Regions from separate parts of the Homo sapiens genome. Here region 1 is linked to region 2. The links are contacts of gene promoters, found by promoter capture Hi-C in human tissues and cell types (Jung and others, 2019). All regions are on one chromosome and are shown on one strand. The core of a region is centred on a gene start or on the middle of the fragment in contact, and the rest is flanking DNA. Distances in the headings are between cores, read along the strand shown. Region 1 has its middle 9.5 kb from the start of GUCA1B. Region 2 holds the start of PRPH2 (peripherin 2).

The links. The method cuts DNA at HindIII sites, captures the fragments that hold promoters and counts their contacts. A contact is called where the count stands out against the background at its distance.
Region 1: a fragment that was not itself captured here is called in contact with the fragment with the promoter of PRPH2 in region 2 in 1 of the 25 tissues and cell types used here (H1 embryonic stem cells).

What each region holds. Positions count from the first base shown.
Region 1 is chr6:42,202,169-42,206,736 of GRCh38, reverse strand. No RefSeq gene overlaps it. Among named protein-coding and RNA genes, the nearest start is that of GUCA1B, 9.5 kb to the right of the region's middle. The HindIII fragment of the contact is 6,721 bases long and covers 1-4,568 here.
Region 2 is chr6:42,720,077-42,724,515 of GRCh38, reverse strand. It overlaps PRPH2 (peripherin 2), which reads left to right and starts at 1,919. Exons shown (of 3, transcript NM_000322.5): 1 at 1,919-2,762. The coding sequence starts at 2,182. The HindIII fragment of the contact is 25,287 bases long and covers 1-4,439 here.

The DNA of each region.
Region 1 (4,568 bases), core at 1,453-3,952, 520 kb after region 2:
AGATCAAGAACTAGTCAATAAAACATGAGCAACATAATGGTAACTATGTGCAGCAAAGCAGCAATTTATGACACATTTTCATCTGAAGTAATTCTTTAAAAATAAATATAGACCCGGCCGGTTGTGGAGGCTCAAGCCTGTAATCCCAGCACTTTGAGAGGCTGAGGCAGGTGGATCACCTGAGGTCAGGAGTTCGAGACCAGCCTGGCCAACATGGTAAAACCCCATCTCTATTAAAAACACAAAAATTAGCTGGTCATGGTGGTGGGCGCCTGTAATCCCAGCTACTTGGGAGGCTGAGGCAGGAGGATTGCTTGAACCCAAGAGGTGGATGTTGCAGTGAGCCGAGATTGTACCATAGCACTCCATGTAAACCAAAGTCCTTAGTTTAGGACTTCCAATTATGTGTTAAAACCTCGGCTTAAATAAGCAAATGAACTACATGTGCACACATGCACGTGAGAAAAACTAGCAGTATTTCTTTTTTCTTTTTCTTTCTTTTTTTTTTTTTTTTTTTGAGATGGAATCTTGCACTGTCACCCGGTCTGGAGTGCAGTGGCGCGATCTCGGCTCATTGCAACCTCTGCCTCCCAGGTTCAAGCGATTATCCTGCCTCAGCCTCCCAAGTAGCTGGGACTACAGGCATGTGCCACCACGCCCAGCTGATTTTTGTATTTTTAGTAGAGATGGGGTTTCCCCATGTTGGCCAGGATGGTCTTGATCTCTTGACCTCGTGATCCACCTGCCTCGGCCTCCCAAAGTGCTGGGATTACAGGCATGAGCCACTGCGCCTGGCCCAAAACTAGCAGTATTTCTTCGACGAAAGTATTTGGCATATTTGAAGCCCGCTTCTTGATATAAACAAGTTTGGCATGAAGTACAGTACTGAAAAAATGATATAAACAAAATAACTTCTTAGCTTATCAGGATATAGCTATCTTGATAGGCTAAGAAGATTTTTGGTTTTCTTTTGTTGGTTTTAAATTAGGCCTCTGAGTAAAATGCATATCCTGAAAATTAGAATTAATGCCTGGGTCACACTTTCTGTCCATGGTGGGTATGGGAGATGGTGAGAGAAGAGTGGATTTGATAATATATGTTGGTGCAAAAGTAATTGCAGTTTTTGCCATTAAAAGTAATGGCAAAAAAAAAATAGAATGAACCGGCCAGGAGTGGTGACTCACGCCTGTAATCCCAGCACTTTGGGAGGCTGAGGCGGGCGGATCATGTGAGGTTGGGAGTTGGAGACCAGCCTGGCCAATATGAGAAACCCTGTCTCTTCTAAAAATACAAAATTAGCAGGGTGTGGTGGCGCATGCCTGTAATCCCAGCTACTTGGGAGGCTGAGGCAGGAGAATCCCTTGAACTCAGAGGTTGCGATGAGCCAAGATCACGCCATGGGCAACAAGAGTGAAACTCCATCTCAAAAAAAAGAAAAAAAATAGAATGAACCAGAAGGCAGGTAGGAAGTGAGATGATCTTTTTTCTTTTTCTTTTTTTTTTTTTTTTTTGTAGAGACAGAGTCTTGTTCTGTTGCCCAGGCTGGAGTGCAGTGGTACGATCAAAGCTCACTACACAATCGAACTTATGGGCTCAAGGGATCTTCCCACCACAGCCTCCCAAGTAGCTGAGACTAAATGTGTGCACCACCACACTCAGCTCATTTTTTTATTTTTTGGAGTCAGGGTCCTGCTCTGTCGCCCAGGCTGGAGTGCAGTGGCATGAACACAGCTCACTGCAGCCTTGACCTCCTGGGCTCAGATGATCCTCCTGCCTCAGCCTCCCAGGTAGTTGGAACCACAGGCATGTACCATGATACATGGCTAATTTTTTAATCTTTTTGTAGAGATGGGGGTCTCACTTTGTTGCCAAGGCTGGTCTCAAATTCCTGACCTCAAGTGATTCTTCGGCCTTGGCCTCCCAAAATACTGAGATTACAGGCATCAGCCATCATGCCCAGCCTATATTTTCTTCATATTAAATAAAATCATGTTCTCATCCAAGAGTCTTAGTATAACTACAGATCTCTGGTAAGACAGACTAAACTAGTTCAAGTGCCAAGTTTCAGTGCTTTGAAAGAATGGCATATGTTCCTGGCCCTATGACCATTTAAACATGCCACAGTGAATACATAAAGCAATCATTTTAAATTATTAGTCTAGTTTCTTAACATTTCTAGTTGTCTGCAACCATCCCTGTCTTACATTACATTATTAAGTTAGTTCTATTACAAGACTAATGAATGACAGAATAGAGCAAACATGGACTTTGGAGTCAGACAGACATGAGTCAGATAAGAGTTCAAACCCACTGACTGCCGTAAACTTGGGCAAGAGATTTAACCCTGTCAGGGCCTCAGTGTACTCATTAGTAAAGGTAATAATAAGTCTGTAGGAAATAATACCTACATACTTACATTTGACATATATTTAATGCTCCAGCTTAATAAGGTTGGAGTATTCGATAACTGATAAAAAACCTTGCACAGTATTGAGCAGGTAACAGACATTCAGTAAATGGCAGTACCATTCCGATGATACTTTAGATGCTTGTGTGCTATACTGTTCAAGAACCAGCTGGAAAAGACCTCAGGTTACCTCCAGGGTAGGGATAACATTTACCTTAGAGTTTTTGTTTTTGTTTTTTTGAGATGGAGTCTCGCTCTATCACCCATGCTGGAGTGTGGTGGCACAATCTCACTGCAAGGTCCGCCTCCCAGGTTCACTCCATTCTCCTGCCTCAGCCTCCCGAGTAGCTGGGACTACAGGCACCCGCCACCACGCCCAGCTAATTTTTTGTATTTTTAAGTAGAGACGGGGTTTCATTGTGTTAGCCAGGATGGTCTCGATCTCCTGACCTCGTGATCCGCCCGCCTCGGCCTCCCAAAGTGCTGGGATTACAGGCATAAGCCACCGCACCCAGCCCTTAGCGTTGTTTTTCAGACAGTTCTGGCTCTATCACCCAGGCTGGAGTGCAGTGACAATCTTGGCTCACTGTAACCTCCGCCTCCTGGGCTTAAATGATCCTCCTACCTCAGCCCCCTTAGTAGCTGGGACTATAGGCACACATCACCACACTCGGCTAATTTTTCTTTTTTTTTCTTTCTTTTTTTTTTCTGTAGAAACAGGGTTTTGCCATGTTGCCCAGGCTGGTCTCAAACTTGTAAGCTCAAGCAATCTGCCAGCCTCAGCCTCCCAAAGTGCTGGGATTATAGGCATGAGCCACAGCGCCCAGCCACAAACCAAAAATCCTTTGATTTTTATTAACACACTGAAGTACTTACCATTGTCCCCATTTTACAGGACAGAAAACCAAGGCTTAGAGAGTTGTTATTTGCCCACTCAGTCACCCTTTCAGCTTACAGATGAAGCTGTTAGTGACAGGGTCAGCCCTAGAAGCTAATTTGTAAGCAGGCTATGAGGTACTCAAATATCCACATACTAAATGCAGAATATTCAAAGCTAAATTCCAGGTTTGTTCACCTCTCACGTTACCAAAATGTACTCGTTTCCTCTAAAGCAGGGGTGTCTAATCTTTTGGCTTCCCTGGGCCACATTGAAAGAATTGTCTTGGGCCACACATAAAATACACTAACGCTAATAATAGCTAATTAAAAAAAAAATCATGAAAGAAAATCTCACAATGTTTTAAGAAAGTTTACCAATTTGTGTTGGGCTGCATTCAAAGCCGTCCTGGGCCGCATGCAGCCCGTGGGCCTCCAATTGGATAAGCTTGGTCTAAAGCTTAGAAGTAAAGTGATTGACTGGGAGGAAAAATTAATGAATTAAAGCAAGAAGCAAGATACACGGCACAATTTAGGTGGTCCCACTGCTCAGACTGGTCCTGAGGGAGGGGGCAACACAAGAGTTTAGGCATCAGCAAGGGGAGTCCTACTCGGTCACAAGAACACTCAGATGGAGATGATTCACAGTGGGGCTTCAGGTCCAGCCTGACTAGGGCTCAGAAGACATGGGTTTGTCGATTTTAAGCATATCTTTGCCCCTGGAGCCAGGCTTATGGCTGACTGCCTGCAATCCCCAGGACTCTCTTTCCAAATCCCCTGCTCAATTCCTAACCCTGCCCTCCTTAAATCCTTTCTATTGTTACTCACTTCAAGCTCTCATTTCTCTCTATGGATTCTTAATCCTCTTTATTTTATTTATCTATTTATTTATTTATTTTATTTTTATTTATTTATTTGTTTATTTTTTGAGACAGGGTCTGACTGTCGCCCAGGCTGGAGTGCAGTGGCACAATCTCGGCTCACTGCAACCTCTGCCTCCCAGGTTCAGGCGATTCTCGTGCCTCAGCTTCCTGAGTAGCTGGGATTACAGGCACCCGCCACCACGCCCAGCTAACTTTTGTATTTTTAGTAGAGATGGGGTTTCGGTGTGTTGGCCAGGCTGGTCTCAAACTCCTGACCTCAAGTGATCCGCCCACCTCAGCCTCCCAAAGCGCTGGGATTACTGGCTTGAGCCACCATGCCCGGCTGGATTTCTAATCCTCTTTAAAATGATATATTTATAACTCAGTAGCTCAGCGACATTTATTTATAGGGCAGGTCATGG
Region 2 (4,439 bases), core at 670-3,169:
AAACTATAGATCTAGACGGTGGTTGCCCAGGGCTGAGGAGTGAGGGAAGGAGGAATGAATAGGCAGAACATGGCAGGTTATTAGAGTAGTGGAAGTATTCTGTATGATACAATAATGATGAATACATGACATTATGCATTTGGCAAAAGTGACAGAATTATATGCACAAAGACTGAACCTTAATGTAAACTATAGACTTTAGTTAATAATAGTGCATCAATATTGGTTCATTAATTGTAACAAATGTACCACATTAATGCAAGATATTAATTAGAGGAGAAACTGGTTGGGGAGATGGAGAATAATGGGAACTCCCTGTATTTTCTGTTCAATTTTTTTGTAAACCTAAAACTACTGTAAGAAATAATCCATTAATTAATAATAATAATAAATGTACAGATTCACCAAGAGTGTACACTTCTACTTCCACTCTCTTTGTTGATGTATGGTGACAGAATTTTGACATACATTCAATTTGATGGATCGAGTTTGGTCTTTTTCTTTTTTTGAGACGTCATTTCACTCTTGTCACCCAGGCTGGAGTGCAATGGCGCAATCTTGGCTCACTGCAACCTCCACTTCCCGGGTTCAATTGATGCTCCTTCCTCAGCCTCACAAGTAACTGGGATTACAGGTGCCTGTCACCATACCCAGACAATTTTTGTATTTTTAGTAGAGACAGGGTTTCACCATGTTGGCCAGGCTGGTCTTGAATGCCTGACCTCAAGTGATCCACCCACCTTGGCCTTCCAAACTGCTGGGATTACAGGTGTGAACCACTGTGCCCGGCCAAGTTTGGTATTTTATTGTTGTTTGGATTTGCATTTTCCTGCTTATTACCCAAGTTGAGATCTTTTCCAGATTATTGGACTTTTCAAGTTTCCTAATTATGAATTGTCTGTTCCTGGTTTTTGCCTATTTTTCCAGTTGATTATTGGTCTTTTGATTGTGAATTTTTGTTTATTGTGAATTTGTGAGACTTAAAACATTTTTGCATATTAATTCTTTTTTTTTTTTTTCCAGACAGAGTCTCACTGTCACCCAGGCTGGAGTGCAATGTGGGGATCTCAGTTCAGTGCAACCTCCACCTCCTGGGCTCAAGCGATCCACCTGCCTTGGCCTCCCAAAGTACTGGGATTACAGGCATAAGCCACCATGCCTGGCCACTGTATATTACTTTTTAATTTTACAAGTTGCAAATGTTTTCTCACGATCTGTCACTTTCTTTCTTTCCTTCCTTCTTCTCTTCTTTTCTTTGTCTTTTTAAAATTTGAGACAGGGCCTCACTCTGTCACCCAGGCTGGAGTGCAGTGGCACGATCATGGCTCAGTGCAGCCTTGAACTCCCCAGGCTCAGGTGATCTTGCCACCTCAGCCTCCAGAGTAGCTGGGAGAACTACAGGTGCATGCCACCATACCCAGCTAATTTTTTTTTTTTTTTTTTTGTGTGTGTGTGTGTGTGTGTGGAGATGGGGTCTTCCTATGTAGCCCAGGCTGGTCTTGAACTCCTGGGCTCAAGTGATCCACCCAACTTGGTCTCCCAAAGTGCTGGGATTATAGGCGTGATCCACTGTGCCTGGCCCTGTCATTTCTTTTCTCAGAGAGGATAACAATTTATTTGTCCTACAGAAAGTTTTAAATGTTGAAGGAGATTGGCCTGGAAATATGCTTTTGGGGAGCAACACGGTCTGAGCCAGACATCCAGATACAGCCCATTCTTCTGGCCAGTCTTGCCCTTTGCTCCTGATTCTCCAAGCTGTACCCAGAGCTTTCTGGTTCAGCATGTACCTGGAGGCTGCTTTTGACCATGTTTTGAGAGTGGCATGGCTTTATCTAATGGGATGAACCTGGCTAAAGAGATTAGCAAAATGTCTTGTGGATCCCACTTTTAATCTGCAGCGTTCAGGCTGCCCCTTCTTGGCTGGGAAGGGCGCTGAAGAAACAACGCCCAGGACCAGGACTATCCCCTGCTCAAGCTGTGATTCCGAGACCCCTGCCACCACTACTGCATTCACGGGGATCCCAGGCTAGTGGGACTCGACATGGGTAGCCCCCAGGGCAGCTCCCTACAGCTTGGGCCATCTGCACTTTTCCCAAGGCCCTAAGTCTCCGCCTCTGGGCTCGTTAAGGTTTGGGGTGGGAGCTGTGCTGTGGGAAGCAACCCGGACTACACTTGGCAAGCATGGCGCTACTGAAAGTCAAGTTTGACCAGAAGAAGCGGGTCAAGTTGGCCCAAGGGCTCTGGCTCATGAACTGGTTCTCCGTGTTGGCTGGCATCATCATCTTCAGCCTAGGACTGTTCCTGAAGATTGAACTCCGAAAGAGGAGCGATGTGATGAATAATTCTGAGAGCCATTTTGTGCCCAACTCATTGATAGGGATGGGGGTGCTATCCTGTGTCTTCAACTCGCTGGCTGGGAAGATCTGCTACGACGCCCTGGACCCAGCCAAGTATGCCAGATGGAAGCCCTGGCTGAAGCCGTACCTGGCTATCTGTGTTCTCTTCAACATCATCCTCTTCCTTGTGGCTCTCTGCTGCTTTCTGCTTCGGGGCTCGCTGGAGAACACCCTGGGCCAAGGGCTCAAGAACGGCATGAAGTACTACCGGGACACAGACACCCCTGGCAGGTGTTTCATGAAGAAGACCATCGACATGCTGCAGATCGAGTTCAAATGCTGCGGCAACAACGGTTTTCGGGACTGGTTTGAGATTCAGTGGATCAGCAATCGCTACCTGGACTTTTCCTCCAAAGAAGTCAAAGAGTGAGTGGCTTCCAGTCCTGGGGTCAGAGCTATGAATATATTGGGGACACTGAGGCTCAGGCCTCTGACCAGCCCCTCTCCCCGCACCCAGTGCCTTTTCCTCTCCATCGGGTGCACAACTTATTGCTGCGTATGTGAGGGTGTATCAGGTGGAACCATATGAAATTGCTAATATTCTACCTCTTTGACCCATAAAAAATGACAACTTCATAGGGTTCAACCTAACATTGGCTAAGGTGGTAGGAAGGTATCAATTTATATAAGCTGTTTGGATAGGAGCCCCTTGGGATGAAGAGCCAGGCAGCAATGTGTGTCCACTTTATACAGAGGGATGGAAGTCATTCATAGATCACAAACACTGAGGTACTATTTGGCTATTTGTCCCATTCATTCAAAGTAGATGGATTCAGTCCCAGAAGTTTAAATTTCCTAGTTAGTTCCCTTGTTTTCCAACCTTTCAACCCTGAGCATCCATTCCCAAGATGTTTGTCTGGATATGTTGGAAAGAGCATAGGAAGGGGAAGTCATGAGATCTAGGGTGAAGTTTTGGTTCTGTTGTTCAAGGTCTTGTGACCTTGGGCAGGTCACTAGTCACTCTGCGCTTTGGCTTGCCCATCTTTTAAATGAGCACTGGAATAGAATAGGTAATTTTGGAAGTCACCTCCTAGCCCTGCCTGGTAGCTGGCATGCAGCAGGTACTCATTAAATGCTTGCTGGTGTTTACTTAGCGAGTCATGATAGTGCAATGTGATAAAGCATTTCTAAAGTATTCTTGGCATATGTAAAAGTAAAATGCTGCGATGGGCTGTGGGAGGTGCTGGTGAGAGAGAGACTCTCGACCACTGTGTCGGAGGGAACAGCCTGTGCACTGGCTCCAGCGGGCTGCTCTTCCCAACACACCCACCAACCTGGGGCTCGAGTGACTTTTCAGGGAAAGGGCAGCCTGCCTTGAGGCAGCCGCTTTCCCTCACCTCTTCTTTCTGTCTGACTCGACCCTACCTGGCTGAGGTTAGGGGTTCAGTTATTCCTAAGGGTGGTTTTTTTTTCTTCCCAGTGAGGCTGGCAAGTCCAAAGGGAACTTGAACTCAGGGCATTGGCACCAGCAGCAGGACATGTTTGAAGCCCAAAACAACATTAATGACGCCCAAATAGCTAGCTTATATCTGCCCTGCAGATGGAAGGGACGTCCAAGTGAAGGTCACTTCTTGGGATTTTATTTTCTTGTGGATGGAGATTACTGCTGCAAATCCCCAGTCAGGAGAGGATTGTAAAGGGCTGTGCCCTTCCCAGGTGACAGGTCTGCAGGGGCAGCACAAGATGCCACGATTTACATAAATCTCCCGAGGAGGGCATGAAGCCAGGGGGACAAGCAGAATTCTGGGGAGTGGGAGAGGCCGATGGTAGAACCAGCCTCTGTGAGCAGAGGCTCACAGAGAAGGGGCTTTTCATCTTTTCCTCTATCATTTCCCTTGATTGTCTCCTGCATAGAGTCAGTTCTTGGACAGATGTATTCAAATCTCTCGGTAACTCCAAATCCCCTTTTGTATCAGAGTGAAGGAATTATCTAGGTCACTCCACTCTCAATGGTCAATGGATCCAAAATTTCAGGCAAATATTTAGCTGAATCAAAACTCCTTCAATGTCCCATACCAACTTGTTGGTGGGAAATTTTCCTAA